Linked DNA regions of Homo sapiens: all the other regions are linked to region 1. Evidence: promoter capture Hi-C in 16 types of primary human blood cells and fetal thymus (Javierre and others, 2016). All regions are on one chromosome and are shown on one strand. Each heading gives the region's core, a stretch centred on a gene start or on the middle of the fragment in contact. The rest is flanking DNA. Distances are from core to core; before and after follow the strand shown.

Region 1 (2,719 bases), core at 83-2,582:
AAAGTGATCTCTCCTCTAAATTTCTACAGCACTTACTGCATTTGCCGTCTAATGGGCTCATTAAATCATAAGCTTCTCTATCTCAAGAATTCTCTTAAAGAAGGGAGGGATGTTCATCATAGTTTTGTGTTTAGTGGATACTTAAATATCTATTAAGGTAATTAGAACTGAATAGTAAAAACTGGTCAAATGAATAATAGGGACCAACGTTTACCACATACTCCTTCTCTGGCTAAAAGCAACTGAGTGTACAGTAAGAGGCAAAACAAGACAGGATTGGGCATACCTCATAAAGGAGTTAGCCATAATGAAAAGCAGTATGTGACTCTTCATTCATTCAGCAAATACTCATGCTTATTAGGTGGCAGACACTATTCTAGGTTACAGTAGTCAACATGACAGATATGTTTATGAAGACCTGAAGCCGGGTGTTTCTATGGCATTTACATCCTAAGAGTCGAGTGATTAACTCTTCAGTCTTTACGGTACTTTTCTGAAAGTCAGTAAATAAATCCCTAGAGGTCCTCTAAAATTATTCTCCAGGTCTGAGAACCCATATCTGACCACGTTCCAAAGGCAGCCATCCACTGCTTACTCTGTACTGGTTGTTTCCTTCAGCTCAGTTGGACCACCACACTGTGTGACAAATAGCCTGTCAGTGTGAGTGCCCGTGTGCATTGGGCCCTGTATGCTGCTGAGATATATTAATGCATGAAGCATTGCCATCTAGAAGATATAACTGTGCAAGGAAATAGAGAAATACACTTAAGAGATTTGGCGGGGGGTGGGGGGGAGTTGGGGTTGGGGGGCCGGGATGTGAATTTGGACAAAGAGGAAGGCACAGTCACGCTCTCCTCTCCTGGACCACGCCAAAGAGCTTACGATCAGGGTCATTTTGCACAAACAAAATCTGGTTCCGATGGGCGGAACCGTAATGGGGCCCGTGAGGACTGCCCTCCCAGCTCCGCATTCTCCTAGACCCGAGGACAAGGGACTGGAGAATGCTCTGACCAAACTTCGTCTTACCGGGACAAACGGGGAAAGGAAGGTCAGAAGGAGCGGTGCCCGACCCCAGGCGTGGAGACAGCAGCCGGACTGAGGAGCCGCCTTAGACCCTGGTGCCTGTCAGCTCGTCTGTCCGCCGCCGCCGGGACTACCGGGCAGCCGCGGCCGAAGGCTTACCGCAAGGCCGGACTGAGCCTGGCTGTGCCGAGGCGGGTCTTCCAAAACGGAGACCGGATGGGGGCCACTAGGATACGCCCCTCAATAAAGCGTTGAACGGGAAGCGGCCGTTCCCCCAACACTTCCTATATCCGGGCACGTGACAAACTCCGCGCCGGAAGTTGACCGCGTAGAGAAGGAAGAAGCAGCGATGGGAGAAAAAGGGAGCGGCCAATAGACGCGGAGGGGCGGGGCGCCAACCGACGGGCGTGGCCAGGCGGAACAAGGCCTCATTGGAGGGGCGTGTCAGGGAAGGGCAGGGGCGGGGCCTTTGTGGCACAGAAACTGACTTGGGAGTTGGGGATTAAGAGTTATTTATTCAGATATTTGCAGCAATTCATTTAAGAAGAAATTCGATTAAATGTTTTCTTTTTTCATACGTAAAGCTCTATTAACTCTAGATCTTTGCTACTTAAACTTTGGAGAGCTTAAATGAGTTAAATCAGAATCCCTGCGGGTGGGACCCAGACATCAGTACTTTTAATATCTTCCCAGATGATTCTCATATGCAGCTAAGGTCAAGAACCATTGTCCTCATGACCTTGATACTCAAAGTGTGGTCCGTGGATCAGCTGCTTGGGTATCATCTGGGGGCTTTTTAGGAAATGCAGCCTCTCTGGCTCACTTCAGATCTACTGAATCAGAATCTGCATCTTAGCAAGATGATGCTTATGCATATTTAAGTTTGGGATGCATAAATGATGCCAATGTTGCTGGTTGCAGGTAGGTGTTTTATTTATTCAATATTCCTGGCACCTTTTTTTTTTAATGCTAGGCACTTTGATTCCAGGTACAGAGGTGATTCAGGCATGAATCTTAACCTAAAGGAGTTCACAGTGTGGTAGGACTAGACAAGGTGTAGGTACAAATATATATAAAATAGGACACAAAATAAGTGACCAAAGAGAGGTACAGATCAGATAAATGTGCTAGAAATTTAAATGAGCAAACAGTAGTTAGAATACTTTTCACTTTCATCAAATGACTTCCCTTTTAAGAGCAGGATCTGGTTATATCTTTACAAAGACCCTTTCCTGCTTGGCACCGGAATGCTTACTGTGGACACTCTATGACAATTGCATGTGTTTTTTGGTCCTATTATCTTTCTTTTATTTACCTGTATGTTTATAGCCCTCCTCAAAGTTGGGAAATGAATTGCATTTCAGAAGCCTAGATCTCTTTCTTGAACCTCAAGATTTGTGTATATACTGCCCATCGCCTGACATTTCCACTTGGATGTCTTATAGACACCTCAAACTTGTGTGTCCAAAAATTAAATTATCCTCTCTCCTCTTGGATTCCCTGCAAAGTGACACTTATATGCAATAGTTTATTTGGAAATTTGATCCCAGGGAGCAAAATGAGGGAAGAGGAAGAAGACAAAACAAAAAGGGAGATGCAGTATAAGAATGTGTTACTGAGTTGGTCATCACCATATTTGAATGTTTTCTTAGTCCCTTAGGACCTTCTAAGAAGCTTTATGAAATGAGTCTCAGAA
Region 2 (2,719 bases), core at 116-2,615, 490 kb after region 1:
TTTTTAATTTTTAGTAGAGACAGAGTTTCACCATGTTGGCCAGGCTGGTCTCGAACTCCTGGCCTCAAGTGATCCACCTGCCTCAGCCTCCCAAAGTGGTGGGATTACAGGTGTAAGCGACCACGCCCGGCCTTTTAAAATCGACTTGAGTCTCATCTCCTGAAATGCAAAATGCATTGGGCCTGTCTCTTACTTCTGCATGTCTCATAATGCTTAGCACAGCACAAGCCCCGAGAGCGCATCATACACCCTGGGGTGGGGAGCTCCTGGCAGGGCTGGATCCACTCACCATTCCTGCCATCCATTGGCACTTGGCTCAGCACAGTTAGGCCAACAAGGACATAATAGACAAGTCCAAAACAGTACTGCACGACGTGAATCATGACATTGGAGAAGACACTGACGTAGAGGCACTCGAAGAGTCTTCGTAAGCTGTGCAGCCACAGAAATACTAGCACTAAGAATGCAGACAGTGCCAGCTCCCCTCCTACAATTCAGAAGGCAACAGGGTCAGCATTTCTCTTCTGGGATTAATCCAAAGTTTTGTTTTTCTGTACTGTTAAGCAAAGTATTAAATCCCATCTAACATCTTTCTTTTTGGTAGTAAGGAAGAAATGGGCCAAATGAAGTCAAGGAATTTGACTTCACTCAAATTACACAGTTCACTGTGTTACACAGTTCACTGGGTTCACAAACACCCATCACTCAATTCTGCTTCATTGTGTGACAGCCTTCCAGGCTTCAGGGACATCACGGTCAGGAGGTCTGTGAAGAGGTCTGTGGGTTTCTGGTCCTGGCACTAACAGCCAGATGCAAACTGGAAGCGTTCCTGGTAGCCTCTGAGTGGCCCCAGCTGTGGGATCCCCAGTATCTCAGGCATCACAGAGGCAGAGAGGGGGACAGGAACAGAAACAGAGTTATGCATTTCTTTCCACATTAAAAAAAAGAAATTATACTTTTAGAGGCATGCTGAGCCCAAGATCTACTTCCTCACCTGTCTTTCACGACCTGCCCACCAAAAAATCTGAAGAAAAGCTGGCTTTAAAAAAACACACACTTAGTTTCTCTTTTTTTCTTTTTTGTTTTTTATTTTTTGGTTAATTTTATGTGTCAACTTCTTTATTTTTGAGACAGGGTCTTGCTCTGTCACCCAGGCTAGAGTGCAGTGGCACAGTCAGGCCTCACTGCAGCTTTGAACTCCTGAGCTCAAGTGATCCTCTGTCTCAGCTTCCTGAGTGGCTAGAACTATAGTCATGTGCCACCACACCTGACTAATTAAAAAAAAATTTTTTTTGTTGCCCAGGCTGGTCTCGAACTCCGGGCCTCAAGCCATCCTCCAGCCTCAGCCTCCCAAAGTGCTGGGATTTTAGGTGTGAGATACCACGCCCAGTCACTTAAAAAAGAAATGAGTCACGGCCGGGGGCGATGGCTCATGCCTGTAATCCTACCACTTTGGGAGTTGGAGGCGGGTGGATTGCCTGAGCTCAGGAGTTCGAGACCAGCCTGGGCAACATGGTGAAACCCTGTCTCTACTAAAAATACAAAAAATTAGCCAGGCATGGTGGTGTGCGCCTGTAGAACCAGCTACTTGGCAGGCTGAGGTAGTAGAACTGCTTGAACCTGGGAGGTGGAGGTTGCAGTGAGCCAAGATTGGGCCACTGCAATCAGCCTGGGAGATAGAGCAAGACTCTGTCTCCATTAAAAAAAAAAAAAAAAAAGTCTCACACACAAACACACACACACGCATGCACACCATAAAGATGCAACTTAATTAACTTTTACAAATTAAGCCAACCAATCCCACCCATGTAACAGCACCCAGATCCAGAAACAGAACACTTTAGGAAGCTGAGGTTGGAGGATCGCTTGAGACCAGGAGTTTGAGACCAGCCTGGGCAACACAGCAGGTACCCCATCTCTAAAAACATTAAAAAAAAAATTAGCTGGGCATAGTGGCGTGCACCTGTAGTCCCAACTACTCAAGAGGTGGAGGAGGGAGGACTGCTCGAGCCCAGGAGTTAAAGGCTGCAGTGAGCTATGATCATGCCACGGCACTCCAGCCTGTACAACAGAGTGAGACCCTCTCTCTTAAAAAAAGAAAAAGAAAGAAAAAAATGAAACAAACAAAAGAAACAGGCTGGATGCGGTGGCTCATGCCTGTAATCCCAGCACTTTGAGAGGCTGAGGCAGGCGGATCACAAGGTCAGGAGTTCAAGACCAGCCTGGCCAACAGAGTGAAACCCTGTCTCTACTAAAAATACAAAAATTAGCCGGGCATGGTGGCGCATGCCTGTAGTCCCAGCTACTCAGGAGGCTGAGGCAGGAGAATCGCTTGAACCCGGGAGGGGTAGGTTGTGGTGAGCTGAGATCAGGCCACTGCACTCCAGCCTGGGCAACAGAGCAAGGCTCCATCTCAAAAAAAAAAAAAAGAAGAAACAGAACACGAACAGCACCCCCTAGTGTAGGCACGACCCCTCCCCCAAACTTCCCATGGGGAACAACCCCTATCAGCACAGATTAGCTTTGACTGTTTTTGTATTTTAAATGAACTAAAACTTAGTTTTAACTCCTTAGGAACAAGTTAAAGCAAACAAATAGAATTCCTCATATCCTCACAACCAACCCTCCAAATACCAAAACACCCCAGTCAGTCTCACAGTAAACAAACGAAGAGATGAAGTTTTAACGAGTGGAGTGAGATCCGCTGATGTAGCCTACC
Region 3 (2,719 bases), core at 72-2,571, 450 kb before region 1:
AGTTACTGTTGAGACTGGAATGTGAGCTACAAGGAACTATATTTTATTCATTCAAATTGGACCATTTTGTTGTAATGTGGAATGCTGGAGAATGACATTACAGGAATGCATATCCATATTTATAAGGCTTATTCCTACAATGTGGAAATGCCGAGCACACCATATTCTGCAGCTCTCTGCCAGTGTCTAGATTTTCCTATCCTTCAGACTATGTCTAAAGAGCAAAGCAGAAAAAAATAAATAAGTAAAGTTGCTGTCTTTTTGAGCAAACTACAGGTATCTCCATAGTTAAAATGAATAATAATAAAAAAAAAGAAAAAGCATACAGAATTAAAGACATCCTGCTCTAGGAAGAAGTGGCTAAGAGCGGGTGTTTATTCTTTGTGTCCTTGACAGCTGCAGTAAGGTGTCAAAATCCCCGAATGTATGACTTTGGTATTTGTAAGTGAAATCCAGCTCGGTGGGAGATACAAGCCACTCAGGATGGCGGTGTTCCCTCCTACACCAGATAATCCGTGGTACAAACAGACTAAGCATTTCCTGACAAAGGTGTGGTATAATCCTAACAATTACCTGCAGCCTCAGACTGTGGTACCCCTGAGTTTTATCACCAGTTGGTACATACCTCACAGCCCGGTCTGATCTTACACAAACAGGCACCCTCCCTGATCCATGCTGGTGGGCAGCTGTAGGGAATGTCAAGGTCATTGTAGCTGAAATGCAACGAAGTGCGAAGCTTCTGAAGCCGCTCCATGCTACAGCAGTTCAATAGTGATTGTATAGAGATCGCAGATCTTAAGAGCAGGAGGGGCCCTGAGATCACCCCTTGTGTGCATGCCCCTTAGTTTTCAGGAGGAGAAAGTGCCAGAGAGGTTGAACGACTTCACCCAAAGCCATACAGCCAGGTGGGGCTGGCTTTATATTCCACTGCATTCTGTCACTCATTCAAATGGTATTCACACTACTGGCCACAGAGCGACTCTGTTATGTACAGAGTCCTCACAAAGGACACCACTGTTGGTTTTGTCCCTATAACTGCCCCATATATTAAAATTTGTTTTCACTCTGCACGTGCACTATTTTTATCTTTAGAAAAAAAATGGTGATTTTTCTTTTAAATAGTGATTTTTTTCTTTTAAATCTGCCACAGAAATTGTGGCAGATGGTAGATTCACATTACTCAGGAAAGGGGAGGCTGGTTTTTGCTGTATTGAGTTCTTCTGTACTCCGTGGAGAGATACCAACCTGCAAACTAAGACAGTTCTCGGTGAGCCCACCATGTGCAGGCACTAGAGGGCAGCCTTTCCAAAGGCAGGCATTACAGACAGACACCCTTCCGTGGGTCTCTAGGAACTCGAAGGGCTGGGAAGTTTCTTAAGCCACAGAGAAAAAAGGCACTCCAGTAGACATCTCATCTCAGAAGAATGTCTTAATAATGGTGGCTAATCAGCTTGCCAGGACATACACTGTCAAATAGGTGTTTTCCATTACTTCTCTCTTTTTAAAAATAAACATACACACATACACAAAGACAATTCCAGACATAAAAACATACATGCCTCAGACACAACTAAATTCTCTCATTCCATGCTGGCATCTACAAGGGGGCGGTCTCTTAGGCTGCTTACTAAGCATCAATACCAGCATCACGTTGTCATGGAAAAATGCAAAGCATTCATGCAAGTTAATAAAGTTACTATCACTTCTACGACTTACCAGGAACATACTGCTTAGTCGACTGAAAAATAAAGCACAGTCTTTTTGGGGATGATTCAGTTATATCTCAAGTCACGCCAAAAAAAAAATCACATTTTCTATGATAATGGTCCCCATTTCCCTCCTCAAAGAATGAACAAAGCCTTTTATGTTTTCAAAAGTATAACTACAGAGCTGAAAGGAAGCTTGTGAATCCATGCAGCGGAAGCAAAACTAGGCAGACTTCATCTGAATAGATATTGTCAAAATGAGCGCACACAAATTAAACAGTTATTCTGCTTTACTCACATTTTTCTTCCTGTGTTTATGCAATTGTCACTTCGGGGAAGTTAGTCATTTTACATTTTATTAATTATGACATCAGGTTATTTAAAATCACGCCTTACTGTTAACAGAAATATTTTTATTGGGTTTCTATCTTTCCAATACTGCAGAATTATATAGTATACTTTTTTACAACACTAAATCCACTTCTTGGCGTGGCAGTGGCATGTGGTATGATGTGACAGAGCAGGTATCATTGAAGACAAGAGATTTTTATCTGATTTTTTAAAAACTCCTAAAAAGCTCTCATAAAATACAGCTGTTTTGTGAACTGAAATCTGTAAGTCATTCCTCTTAGAAAGGGGATCCAATGAACCAGAAGTTCACAACTTCTTAGGAATAATATTGCAAGAATCAAAAGACTTGAAGAAGGAAAGGTAAGGAGGAGGGGGGTCAAGGTTTTCTTTGGCCATCACCATACTTCCCTCTTCTTCAACCTATAAGAAGTCACAGCTTGCTTTTTCTATAAAAAGTGTTAGAGCACGGCCAGCTAGAACCAAGAATGGAAGCCAGTTAGGAAATGCTAAGATTTGAAGGACATGTCTGGGGGTTGGCCCTGAGGGCAGGACTATGGCTTTGGGCAGCGGTGGCAGCAGGCATCAAGACCTAGGCAAGTTGGGTGTCGTTCCAAGGTCTCTTGGCTACTTCCCTGTCTGCCACATGCTACATTTAGCTGGGT
Region 4 (2,719 bases), core at 144-2,643, 420 kb after region 1:
TACCATCTCCCCTAACCATTTCCAGAACTTTTTTCATCTTCCCAAACAGAAACTCCATACCCATTATACAAGTCCCCATTCTTCTCTCCCCAACCACCATTCTACTTTCTGTCCCTGTAAATTGGACTAGTCTAAGTACCTCATATAAATGGAATCATACAGTATTTGTCCTTTTGTGAATGGCTTATTTTACTTAGGATAATGTTCTCAGGGTTCATCCATGTTACAGCAATTGTCAGAATTTCTTTCCTTTTTAAGGCTAAGTAATATTCTACTCTACTATGTTTTGCTTATTCATTCCGTCTGTCAATGGAGTCTTGGGTTACTTCCACTTTTTGGCTCCTGTGAATAATGCTGCTTATGATTATGGGTGTACAAATATCTCTTTGAGTCCCTGCTTTCATTTTGGGGGGTTATATAAGCAGAAGTGGAATTCCTTCATATAGTAATCCTATAGTGAATTTTTTGAGGAACTGCATACTGTTTTCCATAGTGGCTGCACCATTTTTACATTCCCACCAGCACTGCACAAGGTTTCTCTACTTGCTTGCCAACACTGGTCATTTTCTATTGTTGTTTGTTTTTTATAATAGCCATCCTGATGGGTATAAAGTAGCCTCTTGTTGTGGTTTTGATTTGTATTTCCCTAATGATTAGTGATGTGGAGCACCTTTTCATGTGCTTATTAGCCATTTGTGTATCTTCTTTGGAGAAGTGTTTGTTCAAGTTTGACCTTTGCCCATTTTTTTAATTGGGTTGATTGTTGTTGAGTTGAAGGAGCTCTTAGACATTCTGGTTACTAATCCCTTATCAGAAGGATGATATGCAGATATTTTCTCCCATCTGTGGGATGGGACAGTTACCTTTTTACTCTGTTGATAGTGCCCTTTGATTCACAAGATTTTTAATTTGATACAGTCCAGTTTATCTGTTTATCTGTTCTTTTGTTGCCTGTACTTTTGGTATCATATCCAAGAAATTATTGCTAATTCCAGCTGCTAACTATTGCTAAATCCAATGTCATGAAGCTTTTCCCCTATGTTTTCTTCTAAGAGTTTTATAGCATTAGCTCTTATGTTTTGGTCTTTGGTCCATTTCAAGTTAATCTTTGTCTGTGATGTGAGGTAAGGATCTAACTTTATTCTTTTGAATGTGGATATCCAAAGACGTTTTGTATTTTTGTTACACATTGATCTTGCTGTATGAATTTTTTGTTTTACTGTTACACCAAAGGGAATCTTTTAAAATGAAACAAAGTAGGAATATACAGACCTTGAAAAACAAACTGGCAATGTCATTGGGTATTATCTTAGGTAAGTATTTACTCCACTGCGTTTTATGATGTATACCTTGTACTTTGGACTCCAATTTTTTTCCTTCTTTCTTCTAACAGATTTTCTCAAGGTCAACAACTTGTGACCAAATTAGTGACTGCTCCTGTAGCTTGTGGGGCAGTCATGGTACCTAGTACTATGCTTATGGGCCAGGTGGTGACTGCATATCCTACTTTTGCTACACAACAGCAACAGTCACAGACATTGTCAGTAACGCAGCAGCAGCAGCAGCAGAGCTCCCAGGAGCAGCAGCTCACTTCAGTTCAGCAACCATCTCAGGCTCAGCTGACCCAGCCACCGCAACAATTTTTACAGGTAATTCTCCCCATGGGGAAGCTGCTTCAAACTCATTTACTTTCATGTAATGAAATTAAGCATTAAGTGAACAGATTTGTGAGTGATGTGAAAAATTCACAAAAGCTTATTGTACAGTTTAAATCTCTACAAAGATAGAAAGCTTGTTCTGGTTGGCGATTTTTTTTCTTCCCTTGCTCAGTCGTTGGAAGACTTTAGACGTGCCATTGGGCATACCCAGTTATCAGAACTGCTGGACAGAGTGAGTGGCCTACTTCCTGCCCACCTGTTTTCTTAGTCTCTGGCTAGAGTTTCTGGAACTTAAGCAAGCACCTCTTTCCTCCTTTTTCTAGCCAACCATAAACTCTGCTCTGTACAGAGCAGGGATTTCTTTTTACTAGTATAGGTGTTACCTTAAATTATTTTGTTGAATTCAATCTTATTATAATTTTTCAGTTGTAAATTAATATCAGAGGAGAAATACCATGGAGGTGTAGTATATCTATGAGCTAAGTATATGTATAGCTAAGAACTTGGGCTGTAAAGTCTAGCTGCCTTGGGGTTGAGTCACTGCTGCACCACGTACTGCGTGACCTTTGGCAGGTTGCTTACTCTTGGTAAACGTCACGTGTAAAGTGGAGGTCATAATAATTGATACCTCATGGATTAATAGTGCTTGTAAATCACTGAATATAAGACAAGGCACATGGCTAGCTGTTATTTGTGACCGCTATATTGACAAATGTAATAGACACTTGGATTAGCCAAAATATAGACACAGATATCATTTAGTGAATCAGACAGGCTCTCCTTATCTATAGGATACAGAAGAAAGTCACTAGGCAAGATCCTCAGCAGAGAAATGTACAAAACCCTTATCTGGACCTCAGGATCCTCACTAGAAATCTACCTTTTCCCCTTCTGGCCTAGCTGGAGCAATTTTGAATGTAGGCTAGTCTGTATGTGTACTAGAGACCACTTCATCTAGGCTGGGCACTTATCATCAATTTCTGGGTTATATAACATGTGATGTGATTATTGTACTCTATATTCAGGCATAAATATAGTCTTAATTTGTCACCCTTTGTGTC
Region 5 (2,719 bases), core at 65-2,564, 400 kb after region 1:
AGATGGATGAGATAGAATTGATTTTTAAAATACTTAGATGAAATGGAAAAGATTTAGTAATGGCCACTTAGATGATGAAAGGTAAAAATGAAAGAGTATGTTTTTTTAACTATCAGATTTCTAGACACTGGCCACTACACATGTATAGAATAATACGGAAAATTGTGTGATTGGGTGTGAGGAGTAAAGCAGTTAGTTTATTTTAGGACATATTGAATTTGAGATGTATGAGGACATTCAGATATTTGGAAATATGGAACTGTAATTCAGGAGAGAGGTCTGAATTTTGAATAAGCGTTTATAGGCATGTGTGAATGGAAAATGTGTAGAGTGAGAAGTACCCACCCAAAAGCTTGCATCTAAAGGTTATTTATTACCACATTCTTTAGTACTGGAAAATTAAAATATATTAACTTGTTTAGAAGGGCCTGCATTTTGGCTTATGCCTAGAATCCCAGCACTTTGGGAGGCTGTGGTGGGCAGGTTGCTTGAGCCCAGGAGTTGAAGACCAGCCTAGACAACATAGACCCCCCACCTCTACAAATAAAAATACAAAAATTAGCCGGGCGTGGTGGTGCATCCCTATAGTCCCAGCTACTTGGGAAGCTGAGGCAGGAGGATCGCTTGAGCCTAGGATGTTGAGGCTGCAGTGAACTGAGATCACACCACTGTACTTCAGGCTGAGTGACAGAGTGAGACCCTGTGTCAAACAAAGAAATAGGTAAATATATACATACATAGAAACAACTAACTTGTTTAGGAAAAGTTTATCTAGTAATGACTATTTATTTATGTATTTATTTAACCTCCACCTCCTGGGTTCAAGTGATCCTGCTGCCTCAGCCTGCCGAATAGCTGGGATTACAGGTGCCCGCCACCGTGCCCTGCTATTTTTTGTATTTTTAGTAGAAATCGGGTTTCACCATGTTGGCCAGGCTGGTCTCAAACTCCTGACCTAAGTGATTTGCCCACCTCAGCCTCCCAAAGTGCTGGGATTACAGGTGTGAGCCACTGCACCTGGCCATGACTTATTTTTATATGTAGCAATATTTAATATTCTTAAGGACACAAAGTATTTATAAATTTTAATTATTTATTTGTAGGAAATGTGCACTGTTGAAGAACCCAATGAAGAGTTTACATCTAGACATAGTTTAGAATGGAAGTTTCTGTTTCTAGATCACAGGTAATTCCATTTTTAAATTCCATGAAAAGGTAATAGTCATGTTATATAATTCTTGAAATTAATGGATCAAGGGCAAACTTTTTTTTAAATTAGGACTTTGAAACCTGTTCCCATTTTTTGAAAAATAAAGCCCCCCCCCCAAAGTTTATTTCTAGTTGAAATATTTCTTATTATGGAAAAACTTATAATAATGATTGTTTTCTGTGTAATTTAGGGCACCACCCATAATAGGGTATTTGCCATTTGAAGTTCTGGGAACATCAGGCTATGATTACTATCATGTGGATGACCTAGAAAATTTGGCAAAATGTCATGAGCACTGTAAGTAGATTTTAACATTTCTGGTGATAATAACTGTTTTATAAGCAGAAGTCCTGTCCTGAAATGATAGGTAGTAAGACACAGATTTATAATCATTTTCATATTTTTGAAATATGCTAAAAGATTTTGCTTTATGTATATAACCAATGTAGTAGGAATCATAGATCAAGTTTAAACTTGTTCCTATTTTTATAATAAGTAGAATTTTATAATATTGCATCTAATACACCTTGTTCTGAAGCACGTGAGCTCTATATCTGGAGTAAGAGAAGTAGATTCCTTTGAAAATTGTAATACTTCAAACTTTTGGAGTATTGTTTCCTAAATTTTGATTTTGAGGCATGTGAATCTTTTCAGGAGCTAGGTACATGTCTGGAAAATCTGTCTTAGAAAGCTCATAGTAAGTGCTTGGTGTTATCTGCTTATTATTGTTGTTAGAGCAGGAGCATTATCATCCTTTGTGCCAGGCACTGTTCTAAACACTTTACATCTATTATCTTCATTATTCTCCATCACAGTTCTAAAAGGTAGATGCTATTATTATCTTCATGAGTAAGCTGAGAACACAGTAAGGCTAAGTAATTCACCCATAATTTCATAGCTCATTGGTGGCAGAGACAGGATTGGAGCCTAGGCCTACTCTTTTTATCACATGTATTTATTTTAGAAGTTTGTTTTAATGATGAGGTTTGCCTTAATGATATGTTTTATTTGCTTCTCTGATCCTCCTCCCAGATGCTTACCATCTTGAGTGTTCACTAAAGCTTAACTAGATATTTTAGACCTTTTCATGACGTTTTATGCTGCTGTTATAAACCTCACTGTATGAAAATGAAGCAGGTTGTATAATAGCATTAACTCTATGGAAAATTTTCAGAGTAAAGTCATTTCAGCACAAAAGATGTGGGCATTAAGCACCATGATGTTGTCTAAAGAGCTGATACCTCTATTAACTAGCTGGGTAACTTTGGACAGCAAGTTTGTTTGTAGACCTTGATTTCCTCCTTAGAGAGTGAGAGGCGGTGGCGGCGGGGTTGGGGGGTGGGGGGACAGATTGAGAGATTCTTGACTAGCATTTTCTAAGGTTTGTTCCACCGAATGTTGGTCCATAAAAAAAGACTTTATAGTCAAGGAAGATGGGGAAACACTTCATAATCCCTCAGAGAATCTGCACATGCATTAGCATACTCTAGGTTTTGAGAAAACTGAAGA

Evidence for each region. Contacts are between HindIII fragments. The CHiCAGO score rates a contact against its expected background, and 5 or more counts as called.
Region 2: a contact is called between a fragment that was not itself captured here and the fragment with the promoter of EXOC1 in region 1, in 2 of 17 cell types (naive B cells and activated CD4 T cells). The highest score is 5.8, in naive B cells.
Region 3: a fragment that was not itself captured here is called in contact with the fragment with the promoter of EXOC1 in region 1 in 2 of 17 cell types (megakaryocytes and fetal thymus); the score reaches 6.4 in megakaryocytes.
Region 4: a contact is called between a fragment that was not itself captured here and the fragment with the promoter of EXOC1 in region 1, in 5 of 17 cell types (naive CD4 T cells, total B cells, naive B cells and 2 more). The highest score is 6.0, in naive CD4 T cells.
Region 5: a contact is called between a fragment that was not itself captured here and the fragment with the promoter of EXOC1 in region 1, in 1 of 17 cell types (total CD4 T cells). The highest score is 5.2, in total CD4 T cells.

The regions. Positions count from the first base shown.
Region 1 is chr4:55,852,261-55,854,979 of GRCh38, reverse strand. It overlaps EXOC1 (exocyst complex component 1), which reads right to left and starts at 1,332. Exons shown (of 19, transcript NM_001024924.2): 1 at 1,027-1,332. RefSeq lists a silencer at 1,441-1,540. The HindIII fragment of the contact is 2,625 bases long and covers 75-2,699 here.
Region 2 is chr4:55,361,842-55,364,560 of GRCh38, reverse strand. It overlaps SRD5A3 (steroid 5 alpha-reductase 3), which reads right to left. Exons shown (of 5, transcript NM_024592.5): 3 at 290-487. Among named protein-coding and RNA genes, the nearest start is that of LINC02928, 15 kb to the left of the region's middle. The HindIII fragment of the contact is 6,744 bases long and covers 1-2,719 here.
Region 3 is chr4:56,300,245-56,302,963 of GRCh38, reverse strand. All of the region lies in intron 4 of CRACD (capping protein inhibiting regulator of actin dynamics), which reads right to left. Among named protein-coding and RNA genes, the nearest start is that of AASDH, 86 kb to the left of the region's middle. The HindIII fragment of the contact is 1,165 bases long and covers 739-1,903 here.
Region 4 is chr4:55,437,212-55,439,930 of GRCh38, reverse strand. It overlaps CLOCK (clock circadian regulator), which reads left to right. Exons shown (of 23, transcript NM_004898.4): 22 at 1,394-1,649. It also overlaps a transcript of TMEM165 not described here. Among named protein-coding and RNA genes, the nearest start is that of TMEM165, 43 kb to the right of the region's middle. The HindIII fragment of the contact is 726 bases long and covers 1,031-1,756 here.
Region 5 is chr4:55,454,685-55,457,403 of GRCh38, reverse strand. CLOCK (clock circadian regulator) reads left to right here. Exons shown (of 23, transcript NM_004898.4): 12 at 1,104-1,186; 13 at 1,401-1,507. Among named protein-coding and RNA genes, the nearest start is that of TMEM165, 60 kb to the right of the region's middle. The HindIII fragment of the contact is 1,919 bases long and covers 355-2,273 here.